Regions from separate parts of the Homo sapiens genome. Here region 1 is linked to region 2. The links are contacts of gene promoters, found by promoter capture Hi-C in human tissues and cell types (Jung and others, 2019). All regions are on one chromosome and are shown on one strand. The core of a region is centred on a gene start or on the middle of the fragment in contact, and the rest is flanking DNA. Distances in the headings are between cores, read along the strand shown.

The links. Contacts are between HindIII fragments. The study calls those that stand out against the background at their distance.
Region 1: a contact is called between a fragment that was not itself captured here and the fragment with the promoter of CHD4 in region 2, in 2 of the 25 tissues and cell types used here (mesendoderm cells and thymus).

Annotation. Positions count from the first base shown.
Region 1 is chr12:6,527,560-6,530,781 of GRCh38, forward strand. NCAPD2 (non-SMC condensin I complex subunit D2) reads left to right here. Exons shown (of 32, transcript NM_014865.4): 23 at 218-329; 24 at 409-532; 25 at 614-769; 26 at 1,120-1,297; 27 at 1,386-1,480; 28 at 1,954-2,034; 29 at 2,216-2,399; 30 at 3,132-3,222. Among named protein-coding and RNA genes, the nearest start is that of GAPDH-DT, 5.2 kb to the right of the region's middle. The HindIII fragment of the contact is 4,988 bases long and covers 1-3,222 here.
Region 2 is chr12:6,605,933-6,608,888 of GRCh38, forward strand. It overlaps CHD4 (chromodomain helicase DNA binding protein 4), which reads right to left and starts at 1,447. Exons shown (of 40, transcript NM_001273.5): 1 at 1,368-1,447; 2 at 342-519. The coding sequence starts at 441. LOC124902867 (a long non-coding RNA gene) reads left to right here. Exons shown (of 2, transcript XR_007063193.1): 1 at 1-63. RefSeq lists enhancers at 18-177, 1,918-2,067 and silencers at 528-577, 758-817, 1,228-1,327. The HindIII fragment of the contact is 15,757 bases long and covers 1-2,956 here.

The DNA.
Region 1 (3,222 bases), core at 42-2,541, 79 kb before region 2:
GTGCAGAAACACGCTTTGGCAACTTAAAACAAATGGGGACCTCATTGTTCCCCTGCTTAATTCAGGAATCCTTTCTCTTTACAGACACATTTGACAATTCTCTAAATGTTTTTGTAGAATTTGCCCTTCCTCACTTTGTTCATGCAAAACAAAGTATGGGCTGGAATCAAAAATGTTGTCTCTGCTTATCCATGATCCCCAATTTCATTCCCTTTAGAATACGAGCTCTGAGACCACCATGGAGGAGGAGCTGGGGCTGGTTGGGGCAACAGCAGATGACACAGAGGCAGAACTAATCCGTGGCATCTGCGAGATGGAACTGTTGGATGGTAAGAAAAATGGCTGCACTCAGCAGTTTCTTCCCAATTAAGATAACCTGTCCCAAACCTGCAGTTACTCTTCCAACAGGCAAACAGACACTGGCTGCCTTTGTTCCACTCTTGCTTAAAGTCTGTAACAACCCAGGCCTCTATAGCAACCCAGACCTCTCTGCAGCTGCTTCACTTGCCCTTGGCAAGTTCTGCATGATCAGGTAGGCCGTGGGGTTGGTACCCCCTTCTCAAGGAAGATGGGGATGAAATGGCTTCCCTAATGATCCTCTTCTTGCTCTTAGTGCCACTTTCTGCGACTCCCAGCTTCGTCTTCTGTTCACCATGCTGGAAAAGTCTCCACTTCCCATTGTCCGGTCTAACCTCATGGTTGCCACTGGGGATCTGGCCATCCGCTTTCCCAATCTGGTGGACCCCTGGACTCCTCATCTGTATGCTCGGTAAGAGACCCCTCACAACGTGGTGGCAGTTCCCAGGAGCCCCGGAGTCTGTTGAGAGTCAGTGTGAGAATCACCAGGGCTCTTCCCCTAGGCTTTGGCATCACCGCGAACATCTGCTTGATACTTGACCTGTACAGGCCCCTGGCTAAGAGTCACCCCAGTGGGACTGACACTTCTGGTTAGAAGCTTCACCTCTTTCCCCCACTCCAGCTTTCAACTCTAGACAGCTTTCTGACTGCTTCTGGAGTGGCAGAGCATGGGATAATTGATTCCTGCTGAGGGCCTTTTCTACCAGTGTTAGGGTGTAGCCCGGAGGTCTCGGTCCCCATGACCCGCAATTCCATTCCTAGTCTCCGGGACCCTGCTCAGCAAGTGCGGAAAACAGCGGGGCTGGTGATGACCCACCTGATCCTCAAGGACATGGTGAAGGTGAAGGGGCAGGTCAGCGAGATGGCGGTGCTGCTCATCGACCCCGAGCCTCAGATTGCTGCCCTGGCCAAGAACTTCTTCAATGAGCTCTCCCACAAGGTGAGAGGCAGAGAGGCACTGAGGGCTGGCTGCAGAGGGAATCTGTAGGTCACCTCATCTCCTTAACATGGCTCTCTCTGTCTTACAGGGCAACGCAATCTATAATCTCCTTCCAGATATCATCAGCCGCCTGTCAGACCCCGAGCTGGGGGTGGAGGAAGAGCCTTTCCACACCATCATGAAGTATTGCTCCCCGGGCCCTGGGGCACATTTTCCACATAGCACGGGCTTAGGAATCAGACACACCTGTATTTGAATTCCACCTCGGCTACTCTTTAGCTGTACAGCCTTCGGCAATAACTTAGCCTCTCTTTGTGCCTATTTCCTCTTCTTTTGAGGCTGATGATACTTAACCCTTAGTTCTTGAAAATATTAAATACGATAAAGTTCCTAACATGGTGGCAGACATACAGTAGCACTCACTCCCTAGCAGCTGCTCCTGTTAATTTCCATTCACAGTGAAAATTCCTGAGCCGGGGGCGGGGTGGGGTCCCTCTCTGCTGAATGGGACAGGGCAAGGGGAGTGGTGAGGCAGACAGGGGCCGTGGCAGAGAACATCAGAGAAGACGAGTGCTGGGGGAGGGTCCAGGGTTGGTCTTAGTGGATGGCAGAGCTGGCCCTGGGCCATCGAACATCCTCATCTCCCCTTCCTGCAGACAGCTCCTCTCCTACATCACCAAGGACAAGCAGACAGAGAGCCTGGTGGAAAAGCTGTGTCAGCGGTTCCGCACATCCCGGTATGCTGCCCTCCCTGAGGGTTCTTTGTGCTGAGCGGGGCCCTGCAGGGGAGAAAGGCCCATCCCTCACCCCTTCAATGCCCCCACTGTGGCATCCCTGGGACTGGGGAGGCTGATGGGGAAGGTTGAGCCTTTACTAGCTGGATCTCCCAGTTCCTCACAAAGCCCTTCCTATCTGCAGAACTGAGCGGCAGCAGCGAGACCTGGCCTACTGTGTGTCACAGCTGCCCCTCACAGAGCGAGGCCTCCGTAAGATGCTTGACAATTTTGACTGTTTTGGAGACAAACTGTCAGATGAGTCCATCTTCAGTGCTTTTTTGTCAGTTGTAGGCAAGCTGCGACGTGGGGCCAAGCCTGAGGGCAAGGTGAGCAGCACAGGACACTTCAATGCCTGTTGGGTTCTGGGCTGGCTAAGACATCTGCCGGCCCTGGGCAGCATACGGCTCTTGCAGTCACCTTCCCGTCCTCCTTATCCCCAGCTGGGTTGCAACCAAATTGCCAGAGTGACCTAAGACCAGATCTTTGTCTCCAGTTCTTTTTTTATTACTCCAAAAACACAACCAAAGCAGCATCTCATCCAATTCTTGTTTGTTTGTTTTTAATAGTTTTTATTTTTCAGAGCAGTTTTAGGTTCAAAGCAAAATTGAGCAGAAAGTACAGGGAGTTCCCTTCTACCCCTTGCCCCTACACATCACAGCCTTCCCCACCTTCAACATCCTGCACCAGGGTGGCACATTTGTTACAGCTGAACCTACACTTACACATCATCTCCTAAAGTCATGGTTTACCTTGGAGTTCACTGCACGTAATGACATGTACCCACCATTGCAGTATCATACAGAAGAGTTTCACTGCCTTACAAATCCCCTGCACTCCACCTATTTATCCCTCTCTCCCCACAACCCCTGATCTTTTTACTGTTGCCATCACTTTGTCTTTTCCAGAATGTATCATTGGAATGATCCGGTATGGAGCCTTCTCACCTTGGCTTCTTAGTAATGTGCGTTTAAGGCCTCCATGTCTTCCATGGCCTTGTTTCTTTTTAATCAGAAGTAACTGTTTTCAGGCCTGCTCTGAATCTCCTTTTCTCCCTCCAGGCTATAATAGATGAATTTGAGCAGAAGCTTCGGGCCTGTCATACCAGAGGTTTGGATGGAATCAAGGAGCTTGAGATTGGCCAAGCAGGTA
Region 2 (2,956 bases), core at 197-2,696:
ACCACCACCACAAGCCTCCAGGGGTCCCAGCTACCTGCATTCCTCCGAGGACCCACATACCAGGTAATGCCTGCCAGCCCAGAGAGCTCCCTCAACTGGGAACTGCAGAGCATTCCTCAAGACAGAGTGCAGCAAGCTGGCATCTCCGTGCCCAGGAGGCACATGGCTTCCACCCCCCTCACACCAGAGCTCCGCAGAAGGGAACCACTCCCTTCGGATACCCTCCACCTCCGGCTCTGCACAGAGACAGCGGAGCAACACAGCCCTGCCTCACCAGAGGAGTCACTCGGGAGAGCCCCAGATGTCTCCTTCCCGCCATGGGCCCTTGGGGAAGATGTTACCTGGGTGGGGTGGGGGCAGGCTGTTGTTCAAAAGTGCATCCATATCCTCCTCCTCACTGCCCGCCGAGCAGGGGGACGGGGAGCCCAGGCCCGACGCCATCCCCTTCCGCTCCCGGCCAGGGAATTGGCCCAGCTGCTCCTGCCGGCGGCCTGAGGACCTCTACACTGGCCCGAGTCACTGTGCGGGGGAGGGGGGAGAAACACAGAACAGTCAGTGACGCGCACTGTCCCCCTCCCCCACACCCACCCGCTCTTTCCGCCCCCCACCCCAGCCACCCTAGCAGGGCACCCGAACCGCTCAGGCTGAACTTAGTTCCACACTCCTCGGGGGCAGCCCGGAAGCCGGCTCCCCGGCAGGCGCCCCCACGGAGCGAGGGAGCGACGCCTCCGAGGGCAGGCTGGTGCAAGCGCGGGGAGGGGAGACGCGGGGCTGGACCGAGCGGGGTGTGACGGGGGAGGGGGTCCGAGTGGCAGCGGCGCGGGGGGGCCAGGGGAGGCCGCAGGCGGCGAGGCGCTCGGGGACACAAGGTCACTTGGGGGTGGGGGGGCGCCTCCCTGCGCCCGGGGAGGGGCCAGTCCCCAGACAGGGCAGCTCTCCAAAGGCTGTCCTCTGGGACAACTCAGGTTCTCCTCAAGAGCTGCGGGGACGAGGGGGCGTGGAGGCTCGGGCGCTGCGGGGGGCCGGAGGCAGGGACGCGGGGGGCGAAAGCGTCCCACCGGGAAGGGGGCCGGGCCACGTGTCCCGGGGGGCAAGTGATCAAAGGGCGAGGGGGTGGGCGCCGGGCATTGTGGGAGACCAAGCCGGAGGCGGGGGGTCGCGGGGAGCAAGACTCCGGCAGGGTTAGGGCGGGGGCTGGGGAGGAGGCCGGGCGCCCTGCAGGGCCAGGAAAGGAAGGGTCGGCTCCTCTGGGCAAGGGGCGGTCCGCGGGTCCGGAGACGCCTGAGGAAGGGGCGGGTGACGGGATGACCCTCGGGGCTGGTAGGGCCGTGAGGGGCGTCTCTTTGGGAACCCCGCGCTCTCCTCACCCCGGAGCCGCCGCAGGTCGCGCTGGGTCCGGCTCGGTGTCACTCCCGCTCCGGCTCCTCCTCGCCGCGGCCGAAGGGGGGAAAATGGCTCCGGCTCCAGCGTCGCCTCTTAAAGGGCCTGAAACACCGGCCGGGAAATCCCACCGCACAGGCCCCGCCCCCCCACGGACAGCCCATAATAACCTCAACCAACTCCAACCCCCCCCTTCCACTACCGCCACCCTCCTCCCCAGGTCTCCCGGGCAACCCCCGCCCCCTCGTCGCTCAGGCAACCACTGGCCACGCCCCCTTCGCAGCGGGCGCGCGCGCGTCACCTGGGCAACCGCCCACCTCCTGGCCATCCCATAATACACACGGACACCCCCCCCCCCAACACACACACACACACACACACACACACACACACACACACACACAACACACACACACCCTGCCCCCCCACATTTCATACACATATGCCAGAGACTGCTGACATCTCAAAATATTGCAGACCTTTTGCAACTAACCCTCTTAGACATCCCATAATAGACATCCTTTGCCAACTTCTTCTTCACTCTTGGACCTAATGCTAACATCCCATAATAATTCATCACCCCTCCCTCCCCATGGCCATCCCATAATAAGCACCCCTCGCAGCACTTATGCCTCATATCCCATAATATTCAGCCCCATCCCCCACAGACATCCCATAATAACCATCCTTCATCCACCCCCAGTTTGATATCCCATAATAGTCAGAAACTCACCCCCCCCCATACTACAACAACGGACACTCGGCCTCCTCCCACACACATCCCGTAATAATCAGTCTCCCACTTTCTATACTGACATCCCATAATAACTAACCCCCTAGAGCTGCCCTCAGTCCCTGCAGGCCAGGGTCTAGAGGCTCACATCACCCCCAGCCTTCCCTCTTCTAGCTCCACAGCCTATAGTAAGTACCCCTCCTCTATCAAAAAGATAACCCATAATGATCAACAGCCCTACTGTCGCCCCACAGATGGACATCTAATCTCTTTTCCTCTAACACTGGAAAGCTATCCCATAATAATTTTACTCTCCTACCCACATCCTGACATCCCATAATAATTGCAAGGAGCCCGTGGTCAACCAAACATACCATAATACTCCCAACACAACCCAGTGTCACATCCCATAATGCTTCATCTCCACTCTACCACCCCTATACCCTTCGAGCCAGGCATCCCATAATATTCATATTCTTCCCACCCCCATCTCCAGGCGCTGTCAGTCTATTCTAACACCCAGAGCAGGGAGGGCCAGGCAGGCTACCCACGCTTCCTTGTCCCCGCCCCCACTTGCACACACCTTAATCCCTTTCTGGGCCAAAGTAGTATCCTGGCAAAAAGCCTCCTGATGTCTGGGACCCCAGCTTCCCTCATACCATCATTTCCAGACACTCGGGGGCTGGGAGCCCACCTAGGGCCCCACCCAGTCCCACCAAAATCTAGGTATTTTCCAGATGCTTACCTCCAGCTCCTAAGTTTTGAGGAACACCAACCAACCAAAATACCAAGCTGACAGATGAAACATTTACATGAAGTCTAATTCACCCTACAGCATCCCAT